Linked DNA regions of Homo sapiens: regions 2 and 3 are each linked to region 1. Evidence: promoter capture Hi-C in 16 types of primary human blood cells and fetal thymus (Javierre and others, 2016). All regions are on one chromosome and are shown on one strand. Each heading gives the region's core, a stretch centred on a gene start or on the middle of the fragment in contact. The rest is flanking DNA. Distances are from core to core; before and after follow the strand shown. Region 1 holds the start of HDLBP (high density lipoprotein binding protein). Region 2 overlaps LRRFIP1 (LRR binding FLII interacting protein 1). Region 3 overlaps LRRFIP1 (LRR binding FLII interacting protein 1).

Region 1 (4,869 bases), core at 1,479-3,978:
AAGCCCTCTACCATTTGCCATGGCAAGAGTATACCAAATTCTAAACCTGTTGCTCACGTATGCCACCAACTATAAATGTCAGCCTCCTCTTTCCTAGTCTTCCTGTCCACTCAGCACCACCTGGAAAAACTCTTACTCGTCTTTTAAACCGCAGTTCAAGGACCACATTCTGTAGGAAGACTTTCCAACAGGTAACCACTGCCTATTTCCTATGTCCACACCTTACACATATTTCTATCATTGCACTTATCACACCATAATGTAATTACTCTTCTACAAATAAGTCTCTCACACTAGACCACAAGCTGCCTGAGGAAAAGAAAAGTCTATATCCTCTTTTTTTGTTGGCTTTTTGAGACACAGTCTCACTCTGTCGCCCAGGCTAGAGTGCAGTGCTACAATCTCGGCTCACTGCAACCTCCGCCTCCTGGGTTCAAGCGATTCTCATGCCTCAGCCTCTTGAGCAGCTGGGATTACAGGCGCGCGCCACCATGCCAGGCTAATTTTTGTATTTTTAGTAGAGACAGGGTTTCACCATGTTGGTCAGGCTGGTCTCGAACTCCTGACCTCAAGTGTCCACCCGCCTCGACCTCCCAAAGTGCTGGGATTACAAGCGTGAGCCACTGCACCTGGTCGAAAAGACTATATCCTCTCAACCTTTGTATCTGCAGAACCCTTAACCCTACACAGCAATTTCCAGCAAATATTTTTTTGAATTGAAATGAAGAAGTGAGGTCATGAGGCTGAAGTCAGACAACTGGAAGGCCAAAACAACAAAACCTGGAAAAATACGTATTTACTCAAGAAGAAATTCTCCCACCAGGCCACTGAGAAGTTAGCTTTGCCCACTGGAGAGGACACTGTAACAGGGATTCAAGTAAGCCTAGTGGCGCTGAGGGACGTGATATAGGTCAACTATATCTTTGAGGTGCTCTCCTTACACTCAATGCACTTTTACCCGAATGACGTTAATTTGACTCCTGATAAGATGAGCTAAGTCCCTTCAACAGTGCTTGGCACCAAGCAAAACTAATAGCAGTAACAGGAAAGTTTAATCCTCATGATGAATTATTTAATGGGGTTTCAAACGCTGTCCCTGAGACTTGAGGCAGTAGGCTCCAGCTCCATTTTCCCCAAGTCTAAAACTTGATAGGTTGATGTTTCAGACTCAGAGATTCGGTAATCCAAATGATGGAAATAATTCTTACCCAAACACCTTTTCAACTATTTTTAAATACTGTTGCCAAGCATCCTAATATCATGTGTACTTAATGAATTTAGCCTAGGGATACTTTTACATGTCAAAAAATCAAAATATAAACCTAAGCACTACGTTTCATCCAGTGTTTCAGCATCCCAGATTTGCTTCCCTAAATGAACATTAAGCTTATTATGCAATGTGCCGCTACCAGGAGCCTTAGACAAAACCCTAATTGTGACTTAACCTATCTTAATAGGGTTTTAAGGAAGTTAGCTGCTAAGAAAGTGACTATCCTTAAGCAGACACCAAATAAATGTGAAGTCATTGATTGAGGGCTTAGGGTATAGGTAGCTATGAATCTGAGGACATAAAACGCAAAACTGAGGGGCAAATCGTCATGTTCCTTAAGATTACGACTCATCCACATTCCTTCAGCCGTTTAATTTCACCATAATAGGCACTGTTTAATAAGCAAAGCCCAAGTCGACTTCCTTCGATTTTACATGGCGTCCAAACACCATGTCAAGTCTGACCCTCTCATTTTTTAAGTCGAATGGAGAGGATATGTAGCAGCTAGCCTTGAGCACCTAACCACTTTTCAAAGGAGCTACGCACAAAAATACCCTAGCAACATGCCACGGTGTCAGAAAGGCTCAGGTTCCCAACACCATGCGGGTCAGCCATTAGGAACTCAGGAAGTGTTTCCTCTAAGCGGGGGAAACCTAGGAAGGCTTCCTGAACGAGGGGTATTTGCGCCAAGCCTTGACGTGAGTCTCGAACAGTTGCAGTGCCTCCAGGCCACGCGGGAGGGAGGAAAGGACACCCCGGGCCGGGGCACAACCCGCGGGCCGGAGCCGCCCGCGCCCATCCCGCTCAGGCCGCAGCCAGGCACGGCACCCTCCCGTCCCCGAGCCACGTCGCTGCTCGTGGGCTCGCGGAGCACTCCCCAGGTCTCACCTCGGGCCCCACACCAGAAGGAGAAAGCTAGGGGCCGCGCCAGCTCCGCCCTCCCCCGCGGGGCGGCGGGCCCCAGCCCGGGCACAGGAAGGCCACGTCCCCGGGGAGGGACGCCCGACTCGATGGTCTGCGCAGGGCCCGTCGGCCCCACGTGACGTGCGCGCAGCCAATCCCAGAGAGGCCCCCCGATCATCGAGACGGCGGCGGTGGTGGGCTAGACGAGTTTCGCGCGGCCGCTCGCCGTCCCCCGCCCAGTCGTACTCGGCGCCCCAGCTCGGTGCTGCCGCCATCTTCTTGGAGGACAGGAGGAGAGGCGAAGGCTCCCCCTCCCCGTGATCGCTCCGCACTCCCGCCACCACCTGCCCTCCCGCGACCGCCTCTCTCCTCCTCAGTGGGCACTTGTCTCCTTCTAACAAACGGCCTTCCCCCCACTCCAGTTACCCACCGCAAGGCGAAGATTCTCATTACCTGTTCCACTCTTATAAGCATAAGAAAACCGAGCTCATAAGGTAGGAACTGTGGCGAAACAGGGACAAGCCGCCATCTTGGTAAAGGAGAAGAGGCTACGCTTGACCTCCCCCCCCACCCCCAGCCTCTATATGGCCAACTGCCGTGGGAGGAGCACGGCGCTTGCGCAGAGGCGGACAACGCGGACGACTCTGGGCTTGCGCACTCGGAAGCCGGCCGCATGGGGGAGGGGAAGAAGGCCAGGTCGCACTGAGCCAGGAAGCAGTTGGCAAAGGGGCGGGGTGACGCGGTGACGCAATCCGCCTGCGCGCTGGGCGGGGCGGGGCGGGCTGGGGCGGGCTGTGAGCGGACCGCGAGCGCTGGGCGGGTCCGCGGCGCGGTCGGTCGGCGCCTGTTCTCGGGCTGTTTGGCGGGTGAGTGTCTCGCCGGTGTACCCCGCACAAGTTGTGGGCCGGCCCTCCCGAGGAGCTGCGGGGGACGCGCCGCTCGTCCCATACTCTCGGGCGGTGGTCGGCTGGCTCTGGGGTGCCGGCGGGGCGGTGTGGGGGAGGGGCGGCCGAGCCCAGGCTCTTCGGCACTTATCGTGGGCTCCCCCGTCCCGGGCGGTCCTAGTGCCGGCGACAGTGGCTCCGACACGGGCAGGCCCGGGCGCGGGAGTGGGGATTCCGGTGACCCCTTGTTGACCCTGCGGGAATTCCTCTGCACTGTCGTCGGTGCTGGGCCTCGGGGCGTCGAGTGCGGTCGAGGTCGGGAGGTTTGGTGCTTGGAGGGAGGATACAGGTTTAGGCCCGACAAACACTTAGAGCTTGTGTGGCCATCTTGTCTTTCTAACGGTGCCATTTCCTCCCTGAGGCGTGGAGGACTGGCCAGCCCCCAAACCTCCAAGCCCATCGGCTGGATGCCGTGGATAAGCGAGGGGAGAGCGACTAGGCCCTGTCTGCGGGTACCTTCGGCGAGGAGAGGCGACGAAGGTCTGCACCAGCGAGGCACGGACAGGCAGCAGGGGGTAGGGTATAGGGTTGGAGGCCGCCGAGTTGGCCCGGGGATGAGGAGCAAACCTGTGGCTTCCGTGGTCTCAGTGGAGTCCCAACTGTGACCTGGCCTACTGGCCCAGACAAACCTGGCTTGCTTTTTTACCTTTTCGGTCTAATTCTTGTCAGTGCCACCAGACCTTGTCCTCTCTCCACGGAAACACACGAACCAACTACACTGAACTTCTTGTAGTTCAAACTTCTGCACCTTTGGCCATTGCCCAAACTCTTAAATCTGGCTACTTCCCACCTTAACTGCCTTCTCCTTACCTAGTCTGTGCTTGTGGGATTCCGCCCAAATTAGATTTCCTCCAGACAGGCTTAGGTGTTTACCTGATGTTCCAGATGGTATTTGTCCAGTGGACTATTGGTGCTGTGAGGGCAGGGCACATGTTGTCACCCATACTCATTGCCTCGGTTGGTGTCTAGCACCTAGTAGGTTCTCAAATACTTTTTGAATCACAGTGCCTGCCGATATATTTAATGTTTCAAAATAGTTCTGCCGTCATAAAGAAAAACATCATGGTGTAGGGGTCATGAAAGCTGATTCTTGATACTTCTGATTTGAGCCTCATTGTTTTCAGTGATTTTTGATAGCTCCCATTAATGGGTTCTTTGCACCACCCAGCATCCTAACTCATGATGTGTACTGTTATGTATAATCTTGGCATTGATCTCATTAGCTATAAAGGTTGTCCTGATTTTTTTTCCTCAACTTCCACCTTGATTTCTCTCACCAGTGCCACAGCCAGGAATAAAGAACAAGAGCGTTTTAATTAGATCAGATTTACATTCTGACTGGCTCTTAAACTAGCAAGGTGACCTAGGGAAAGGGGCCAGGGTTTCCCTCTATCATTCATAAATGTAATTCAGGGCCCCTTTTTATCCCCAATACCAGCATACAGAAACTGCTGTAAAAGAAGAAGTTGTGGGTATTTTTTTTTTTTTTTTTGTCTGGAGGAATGGGGACACCAAAACTCATTTGGCAGCAGAGGTGAGGTAAGGCCATTTGTATTGTCTGTTCTGTTAGTAGTCATACATGCCACTTATCCCTGCCCCAGTCCCTGTTAGGAGTGTTATGTGGGTATACTGAACGTGGACCTTCCCCGAATCCAAAGAATCCAGATGCTTTGAATAAGATCATGGACCTTCCGGGTTCTACATCGCCAGATGTTGTTCATCTTCTATCTTTTGTTTTGCGAAAATTGGTTT
Region 2 (4,869 bases), core at 1,342-3,841, 3.6 Mb before region 1:
AGACTCTAGGCCAGCGTGGTGACACATGCCTGTAATCCCAGCGCTTTGGGAGATTGAGGTGGGCCCATCACTTGAGCCCAGGAGTTGGAGACCAACCTGGGCAACATGGTGAAACCCCATCTCTATAAAAATACAAAAATTAGCCAGGCAAGGTGGCACAGGCCTGTGGTCCCAGCTACTCCAGAGGCTGAGATGGGAGGATCACTTGAGCCCAAGAGGTGGAGGCTGTAGTGAGCCATGATCACGCCACTGCACTCCAGGCTGGGTAGCACAGTGAGACCCTGTGTCAAAAACAACAACAACAATGACAAAAAGAAAAAAAACAAATAGACTCCTGAGTTAATCTGGAAGAATAAATGGAGAGGCTGGCCAAGAAATTTTTGAAAAAACATAACAGGGGTAGTTTTCAACTTTTTTGTAGCCCACAGCTTCTTTATTCAAACACAATCTCACCTCCCTGTTCAAATACTTTCAGTGGGTCCTTTACTGCTTCCTGAATAAAGTCCAAGTTCCTTAACCTGCGTACTGTAAAAAGAGCATTCTGACAATATCCAAGGGTGTTCAAAAAGCAATGTTTACAACTCCCACAGTTCTACCACTTCGGCAGAGCAGCCCTGTGTTTATTCTGCATGTCCTTCTGGTCTTTGCATGCCTATGTCTTTTACACAGTCCTATTCTTTTTTTTCTTTTTTGAGATGGAGTCTCGTTCTGTGACCCAGGCTGGAGTACAGTGGTGTGATCTTGGCTCACTGCAACCTCCGCCTCCTGGGTTCAAGCGATTCTCCCACCTCTGCCTCCTGAGTAGCTGGCATTACAGGCCCATGCTACCATGCCTGTCTAATTTTTGCATTTTTAGTAGAGACGGGGTTTCACCACATTGGCCAGGCTGATCTTGAACTAGTGACCGCAGGTGATCTGCCTGCCTCAGCCTCCCAAAGTACTGGGATTACAGGTGTGAGCCACCGTGCCCGGCCGCAGTCCTATTCTTTTTTTTTTTTTTTTTTTGAGACGGAGTCTCGCTCTGTCGCCCAGGCTGGAGTGCAGTGGCGGGATCTCGGCTCACTGCAAGCTCCGCCTCCCGGGTTCACGCCATTCTCCTGCCTCAGCCTCCCAAGTAGCTGGGACTACAGGCGCCCGCCACTACGCCCGGCTAATTTTTTGTATTTTTAGTAGAGACGGGGTTTCACCGTTTTAGCTGGGATGGTCTCGATCTCCTGACCTCGTGATCCGCCCGCCTCGGCCTCCCAAAGTCCTATTCTTAATTGTGTTCATCTGAGGACTAAGAACTCCACAAGCTTGGCTTTGGGAATAGCAGTAAAGCAACAACACAGTGCTGGGCTCGAAGACGGACAGCTGCCTGAAAGACGGCAGAAGCTCCCTGAGTGTGCCAAAAGCACTGATGAAGTTTTAAACCTAGTCCAAGCTAACTGAGTGATGCTAGACCTTCCCGCAACTTCTCTAACCTGGATGTAAATTGTAATTCTAGAGCCCCTTGTTTTGCGGGAAAAAAATAATCTGTGTATGGTCAAATAGCAGATGGAATGAGCTGCCAGACGGAATCTTTTGCCAGTGCAACGGAACAAAGTACTTGTTCATGCCAGGCTCAGGTCCCCTGTTACTTGCAGTCCTCCGGGCAGTCCTGTCTGCTGGCTGTCTCTCTCCCTGCTTTACGTAGGAAGCTGGAAGAGGTCAGGGGATTTCCTTGAAATTACAGGCTAGTGAATGGCAGAACAGGAGCTCGAGCCTGATTATCTGCTAAACCTCTGCTTTGGAGCTTTGAGGCCTTCTGCACAGGTCACTTGCATTCTCTGTGTAGGGGTGCAGGGTTGTTTTCTCTCCCATCGGCTTACTCTTGGATTGGGCCTTCCCAGAGGTGCCGAGAAGCAAAACCCAGTTCTTTGATCTTCTCACTTCAGCTGTTCTTTCTTCCAGCCAACTTCCAGGATTACATCCCTTGGTGTGACCACACCACATCTGAAATCTCAACTCCCCACTTCCCACCCAGTGACCTGCACCTCCTGTCTTTCAATGCTCCTGGCGCTGACTTTCTTGCCGTCCCTGACAAGCAGCCCTGCCTTCAAGTTCTCACTGGATGAAAGAAGAAGGCAACAGATGTTAGATGCCGTGTGCACATATTCCCATCTTGACCATTCTTTCTGTGCATGCTTTGCTGTGGAACTGTTGGGGCCCCATCCAGCTGTATAAGCTGAGACATGAATGTGCTTCCACAGTGTGGGCACCTCGGATGCAGGTACAGGCCCCTCTAGATCCAGGGCCACTTGGCAATGTCTGAGATATTTTTGGTTGTAACAGCTGGGGTGGAGAGCGCTGCCAGCATCTGGTGGGTGGAGCCAGGAACGCGGCTAGCCATCCTGCAATGCACAGGACAGCCGCCCACGACAAGGAACTGTGCAACCCCAAACGTCAGGGGACCCTGCTCTTTATCAATCCTAGGGTTTCCCAAAAAGCCCGACAGCACATTTGATACAGATGCCACCAACGGGGTGGAGACAAGGGGCGAGGGCTTCAGTGGAATCTCAGCAACTAAAATCAAGCCGACGGTCAGGTCAGAGAAGCATTTGGAAAGCCTCCAGTGCGTTTAGGGGACCACGCCCTCTCATCATGCCAAGGCAGCTGCCCAGTGAGGTACAGGGTATAAAGGTGACGTGGTCAGGAGTGGCTATTTGATCTCCAGTTATTCCAGAATTTCCACTCTCGTGCCAAGCATGTCTCTCCAAATGGCTGCTCTCTGGCGTTCCTCACACTCCCCCTGAAGTTCATCTAAGATCTTCATTCTTCAAAGGTGAGGCTTGTATGTTCTATGTCCAAGTCTTCTCTAAAGATATCCAATTTGTACACATGGAGAACATTTTTTGTACTCGAATAGTTGATGACTTTGCTTTGAGCTATCTCTCAAGGGCCAAAGTGCAAAAGGGCAAACCCTTCTATTAGAGTGTGGGTCTATGTTTTTAGTGTTATGCCGAAGTGTGTTTTAGCCTTTATTTTCCTTTATGGAAATTCATTTTCTTGGAAAGATCATTTTGGGGATGCTGTTTTAGGATTTCTGTACCTTCAGCTGGAAGGATGCTCACCGTTCCTGATGTTCATGTCTGCCCTTCAGTCAGGGAGCCTGGAAGCCAAGTTGCTTAGTGGCAGTGCTTTACTTTTAAGCCTTCGAATACATCTTGAGTACCTTAAACTTCTCTGTATGCTATGGGTACTGTTTAAATTCAGATTATGGAGTCCTATTCTCCCCACACTTCTTTTTTTTGTGAATGACATTTATCAATGACATTTGTAGCGTGGTGGATTCTGAAGTTTTCAGCTAGTAGCGTAAAGATTTATTTCATGGCTCTGACTGTCAGGAATATTCTCTTTTCTAGAATGTTAAACTCATAGGCAGGATTACTGAGGCAAAGCCACATAAATGAGGGAATCTCTGGAAAAAATACATTGCTTTTATTTTGTACTAAAATTGCCATTTTTTTTTTTTTTTTGGCCAAGTATAGTGGCTCACACCTGTAATCCCAGCACTTTGGGAGGCCGAGGCGGGTAGATCTCTCGAGGCCAGGAATTCAAGACCAGCCTGGCCAACATGGTGAAACCCCATCTCTATTAAAAATACAAAAAAAAAGTAGTTGGGTGTGGTGGCACACACCTGTAGTCCCAGCTACTTGGGAGGCTGAAGCAGGAGAATCACTTGAACCCAGGAGGCGGAGGCTGCAGTGAGCCGAGATCACACCACTGCACACCAGCCTAGGCTACAGAGCAAGACTATCTCAAAAAAAACAAATTGCCATTTTCTATTCCTAAGTATATATTGAAGCATTTGATTTATTTCTTCTCAGTGGGGTATACTGTTAGCTGGTGAATGCAGTTGTTGAGGATGAAGCTTATTTCCCCATGTCAGCATCTATTCTGAACATTTTAAATGAACTATTCTGAGAGCATGTATAGATTTTTTTTTTCTTCACAGGAGAGCTGCCTTAGGAGGACTTTTCAGAGTTTGTGCCTGTAAGACTGAGAAATACATAATGGATTTTAGCTGTCGTGTTTTTAGAAGGTAATTGGTAGATATTTGCAGTGCATTGTCTTCATGAAAAACAAAATTGGGCCTGGTGCGGTGGCTCAGACCTGTAATTCCAACACTTTGGGAGGCCAAGGTTAGTGGATTGCTTGAGCCCAGGAGTTCAAGATCACCCTGGGCAACATGCTGAAACCCTGTCTCTGAAAAAAAAAAAAAAATTAGCCAGGCGTGGTGGTGCACACCTGCAGGCCTAGCTACTTGGGAGGCTGAGTTGGGAGGATAGCTTGAGACAAGGTTGCAGTGAGCCAAGGTTGTATGTAGTGAGCCAAGATTGTGCCATTGCACTCCAACCTGACACTCAACAGTGTGAGACCTTGTCTCCCTACCCTCCCCCCCCCACACAAAAAAACCCCAAAAATCAGAAGTGGTTTTCTTAGAGATGCTTTACTGGAGGTGTTTGTGGCCATTTCCTTGGCTACTGTGTATAGAGGAGGTTACTGTGGTCACTCTGGTATGGACTTAAAAAGCATCAATTCTGTGGAACACACTGGGAAAGCGGATACATTTAGGATTGCTATAGACTTATTCCTAGACACTTTTTGAGATGAGTTTAATTCCAGAGTAAAATACATTAGAAATTATTTTAAGTATGCCTCAGAGTGTATCACAAAACAACATTTAATGGTGTAATGTAACGCCATGGAAGGGCTCTGAGCTCAGGTACAGTGCACCTTGACTGGGACACATACAGCTCTGAGGCAGGTCCTTCAATATTGGGTCCTCCTGCTCCTTATCCTCCCTCAACTCTGCCATCCACTCTTCCTGCACAGGAAGCTCTGCAT
Region 3 (4,869 bases), core at 1,474-3,973, 3.6 Mb before region 1:
TCTTTTTACCAAAGCTGCCTCTTAGGACAGAAGTCCTTGTCTTGAATGCATACTGGGAAGTCTTCACTCTGTCAAACTTTTCTGTTCTCTGCCTGGTAATTTCCAGACAGAAGAGAACATTCAAAGAACGAACTTACTTTCCTTCTTTTTTTTTATTGAGACAGTCGTGCTTGATTGCCCAGGCTGGAATGCAATGGCACAATCTCAGCTCACTGCAACCTCCGTTTCCCAGGTGCAACCGATTCTCCTGCCTCAGACCTCTGAAGCAGCTGGGACTACAGGTGCCTGCCACCTCACCCGGCTAATTTTTGTATTTTTAGTAGAGATGGGGTTTCACCACATTGGCCGGGGTGGTCTCAAACTCCTGACCTCAAGTGATCCTCCCATCTCGGCCTCCCAAAGTGCTGGGATTACAGGCATGAGCCACCACACCCGGCCCAATGAGCTTTACTTTTCTACATAAGGAAAATAATGGTAGAAATGAAATAGCTGTGAAACTTGTTTTGCTATTTTTGTACCATGCTAAAATGTTAACTACTGCTTATGTCGGCATACACCTGAGAGCTGCTGTGATTTAAGCCTTTTTATTTTTCTGGGTATGATGTAACTCCTCCCCTACCTCATCCAAGTAGATAAGTTCATGGAGGATAAACATGACAGCTGCTGTTTCTTTTATAGCTGGTTCCAGGGAATATCCACTGAATATAGGAAAGATTGTCAGTTGCTGTGTGCTGCCCTGGTGCTGGTGGAGCTTTCAGCCTTCTTCTCAGAGGAAACAATTTAAATGTTTTTGTGAAACCCTAGAGGTCTGGGGTTTGTAGGACAGTCTTGAGCAGAGCAGGCAAAGGTGAAGGGAGTGGAGCCCAGACGTGCTGCCTGGAGGGAAACCTGTCACCTGGAGAGGAAACGGCACAGGGGAGGCCCAGCCGCCCTCGCCTCTCAGTCCCGCACGTCTCTGTTAGTGGTAGTCATGGTTCTTGTATTTCCATCATGTTGAGGCAATTGAAGGAAATATGAAGATTCATTCATCTCAGGAAAAGCAAGAAATGTATTAACAGCAAGAGTAGAAGTTCACTTGCATGGAAGATACTGTATAGCGTATTTATTTCTTAGCGCCAGTGGGAGTAGCTGCTAAGCCCAAGATTGTGTTGTGAGGTTTGAATAGGTCAATGTGTGAGTCATCAATAAAGTAACATCAATCATTTTGTTCCCGATTAATACGTTTGCTATTTTAGGATGCGAAGGACTTTAAAGAAGCTTATTATTCTGAAAAGCAAAGCCTGGAGATTTCCAGTAGCAAAACAGACACAGTCTGTGGACAATCTCAGTGTACAAATAATTCACCTCTGGCATGAACCCAAAGAATTTCAGAGGGGAAGGAAGCTCTTAAAGATTACGTCCCCTCCTACTTCTTTAATGAGGGCTGGGGTTCAAAAACCGAGTAACTTATCCAGGCTCACATAACTGTAGGTGACAGAGCCCAAGCTGGAGGCTGTGGCTGGGTCTTCAGACTCCTTTCTTGACAGTCTGCACCTGCATAAACTCAGACCTTTACTGAGAACAGTGCAGCCATAGCTGAGAGAAGCAGTCGGCACCCAGCATTTCTTGGACTTGTCTGCCAGGTCCCCCGAGTGCAGAGGACAGTGTGCTGGCTCCTGGGGCCTGTGGGCCCGGCCAGGAGCAGCCTTGTAAGCTAAAGCCTTCTTTGAAGGTGGCCGTCTTACCGTAAACTTTCATGGTAATTTCAGTCTACTCCATAATTTGTCTGAGTTAATTTTGATGGAAACATAGTGTTTTAAGTAATCAGTTAGGCTTTGATCTCTAACTTTATGCCATCCAAATCTTCATGATGGCCTGAGCACCAGGCACCCAGACCTGTGCTCTGAATTGTGCCGGGGCTGGTTCATACAGTGTGATGGAGAGACGAGAGATCCACACTGGAGTTCTGAAGCTGTGGTTCTCAACCCTGTCTTTTTACAAGTTCCTTAACTTCCTTACTAGCCTGAAATGAAATGCATAGGTGAGAAAGTCAACCAGCGCACATAATTTCGAGTCAATATAACATTTCCTTAAAAAATAAAATACAGGTAGTTTATAGTAACATAATAAGAATTTTGATATAGAAATACTCAAGACCAAGTACACCAGCAGTTGAATGCAGTGATGAGACCTGCACACACCTGTGCCTGGCGTCACAGGGAGGCTGACACAGGTGTGTTGCACTGAGACCCACACACCACCCCTCATGTTGCTGTCTATGACGTGACATTCTACAAAGTTGACTAACTCTCAGGAAAGTTCTGAACAAAGCCAAGTATCATCATCTTCCTTCAATTTCCATGTCGATTGCATTCCTGGAATAGTTCATGTATATTTGAACTGTGTAAAACATATTTTGAGTTTATATGTAAGTTGCAATCAGTTTGTAAATCCAAAAATTAAAAATAGTGGTTTTTCTTTTCTTTTTTTTTTTTTTCTTTTTTTTTGAGATGGAATTTCGCTCTGTCGCCCAGGCTGGAGTGCAATGGTGAGATCTCGGCTCACTACAACCTCCGCCTCCCGGGTTCAAGTGATTCTCCTGCCTCAGCCTCCTGAGTAGCTGGGATTATAGGCATGCGCCACCATGCCCGGCTAATTTTGTATTTTTAGTAGAGATGGGATTTCACTATGTTGGTCAGACTGGTCTTGAACTCCTGACCTCAGATGATCCGCCTGCCTCGGCCTCCCAAAGTGCTGGGATTACAGGCGTGAGCCACCGCACCCGGCCAAAACAGTGGTTTTTCTATCTTCCTGAGCAGTCAAGGGAAAAGTTCTTCCCATCGCAGGCGTGTCTGAATGCGGGATGGTTGGCCGACCTGGCCCTGCCCCCCCGCCCCAATACCCTTAGCTTCTTCCCAATCTTTTTGACATCCCAGTCCCCCCAACATTTCCAAAATGCCCTCTAAGTCAACACTTCCGCCACTGCCAGCTGCCACCCCAGAGTGCCCTGTGCCTGGTAACGATCGTTCTCACAGTCATGGCCGTAGGGAAGGCTCTTTGTGGTTCCTGGGGGACTTCGTGAGATTGCCCACATGAGCATTTCTTTTGGAACTGAGATACAGTGCACATCGCCTCTGGGGGACATGGGGTGGTGGGTACACGGAACCGAGGTGAGCCTCCCTTGCGTTGCGGAGGTGCTAGCCTTGTGCCGTCCGTTCTTGTCCACGTCTGTGCAGGAGAACATCACCCGGCCCACTTGGTTGCTGTGAATAGCAAACTTTAGAGGCCACTGCATCTGAGGGTTGGGGGGTTTGCAGAGAAAACAAAAGTTGGTGGCTGTGGCTACTTCCTATAGCAAAGTGGCTCAGGAAAGGGATCCCGTGTCACAGCCTGGGTACACCACGGCCCCTCCAGGAGCTTGATTCCTTCTTAGCTCAGGGGAAGAATCGCACAAGGACCGAGGCCCCTGCTTGTCTGTGAACAAACTGGCCTTTGTGGCCACTTCAGGCTTCGGCTGCATCATATTCCTGTCACATTCACGTGAGTGAACTTGAATTACATCCTTAACACTTTTCCAAAAAGGTTATAAACTAGACTGGTGATGTATCATGGGGCCTAGAAAAATAATGCTGCTGCTTTTTCACTTCTCTGCTTGACGCTAAAACCTGGAGGCGAAAATGAATGTGTGTAATTAATAGGAGAACTTCCTCCTGTTTGCAGAGTGCTTTACAGCTGGCAAACGGCTTCTCTCCCTGAACAGCCCCGTGGGGCGTCATTTCCATCTGACATCTGAGGAGAGCTGCTGTTCATGGTCCAGTCCTCTGTCCATTGGCCCACTGGGTGTCCCTAATATGCGCTAACAGGCTCCTGGCAAACGGCGGGCATGGCAGCCACGAATCTGCACATGAGCTGTATGCCCTGGGTCTCCCCTGGGCTCTGCGGGGGGAGGTGGGAGCCGCCTCTGGTTCACATGCGGTGCTTTCCAGGCTGCAGGGCCTTCTCAGCCTGGGTGGAAGGAGTGACGTCAGAGTATTTCTCAGGAACTGCCTGCCCTAAAGTTGTGGCTCATAAACCCCTTCCAGCTTCTGTGTAGAATTCTGGACCCCTAGGGTATCACCACAGAGTTTAAAAGCAGAGTAAGAACATTTCCTGTGACTGTAGGGTGAGAGGCCCTGGGATCTGTAATTCTACACTAGGCTGGAATCCCAGAAAAGCTTCAATGCTCAGGAAATGTATGAGCAGTGCCAGGATCCCCTGAAGGAGTGTGGGGCTTTTGAAGCAAGCTGCCCAGCGAGCCTCCCGCAGCACCTGCTGTCCCTTTGCCAGCAGTCAGGGCCCCTGCCCCACCAGTGTTGGTTGTGTTTCTGTTCTTTGAGGAGACCACATGATGATCTTCTGGTAGGAGCCACAAGAAGGATACAAATGCCATTAGAGCTGCTAGAGCCCCAGACGTCACTGGAATTGGGGTTCAGGGTGTTGGGCTGTCCCCACCCTTAGGCAGTACTCCCACTGCCTACAACACCTCCAGCGCAGGCTGAGGCCATGCGAGGATGGAAGCACATGTGGGCTAGGCCAGGAGGGCGTGCGGGAGGGCTCTCCACTCTGCGCTCCGCTGGGGTTTCTCCTTGTGTCCTGGTCAATAACTTCTTCTCTCTCTGGTTCTCCTTGGCCTGAGCCCCCAGCCTGAGCCGGGCTGTCCCTGAGTTCCCTGACCCGGAAGAAGGGACGGCCATTATCTTTGGGTGACTGTCTTCTTATAGCTGGGAATCTCTGGGGCTCTGAGCGGGAGGCCCATGGGGAGCCCTGGAAGAACAGGCATGGGTTAGACTGTTTACCTCACTGCCCTGTGTGCCCTGCCCCGGTAGAAGCCGTTTCTGCTGTGTGGTTCTG

Evidence for each region. Contacts are between HindIII fragments. The CHiCAGO score rates a contact against its expected background, and 5 or more counts as called.
Region 2: a fragment that was not itself captured here is called in contact with the fragment with the promoter of HDLBP in region 1 in 1 of 17 cell types (neutrophils); the score reaches 6.4 in neutrophils.
Region 3: a contact is called between a fragment that was not itself captured here and the fragment with the promoter of HDLBP in region 1, in 1 of 17 cell types (neutrophils). The highest score is 5.7, in neutrophils.

What each region holds. Positions count from the first base shown.
Region 1 is chr2:241,312,944-241,317,812 of GRCh38, forward strand. It overlaps HDLBP (high density lipoprotein binding protein), which reads right to left and starts at 2,729. Exons shown (of 28, transcript NM_005336.6): 1 at 2,627-2,729. SEPTIN2 (septin 2) reads left to right here and starts at 2,982. Exons shown (of 13, transcript NM_004404.5): 1 at 2,982-3,039. RefSeq lists enhancers at 1,705-1,754, 2,635-2,684, 2,705-2,804, 2,730-3,454, 3,445-3,504 and 1 more and silencers at 1,985-2,364, 2,905-3,254. The HindIII fragment of the contact is 7,846 bases long and covers 1,385-4,869 here.
Region 2 is chr2:237,680,693-237,685,561 of GRCh38, forward strand. All of the region lies in intron 1 of LRRFIP1 (LRR binding FLII interacting protein 1), which reads left to right. Among named protein-coding and RNA genes, the nearest start is that of LRRFIP1, 56 kb to the left of the region's middle. The HindIII fragment of the contact is 2,597 bases long and covers 1,294-3,890 here.
Region 3 is chr2:237,696,885-237,701,753 of GRCh38, forward strand. The region is part of intron 1 of LRRFIP1 (LRR binding FLII interacting protein 1); the gene reads left to right. Among named protein-coding and RNA genes, the nearest start is that of LRRFIP1, 72 kb to the left of the region's middle. RefSeq lists enhancers at 200-409, 3,516-3,565, 3,576-3,625 and a silencer at 1,473-1,522. The HindIII fragment of the contact is 2,936 bases long and covers 1,256-4,191 here.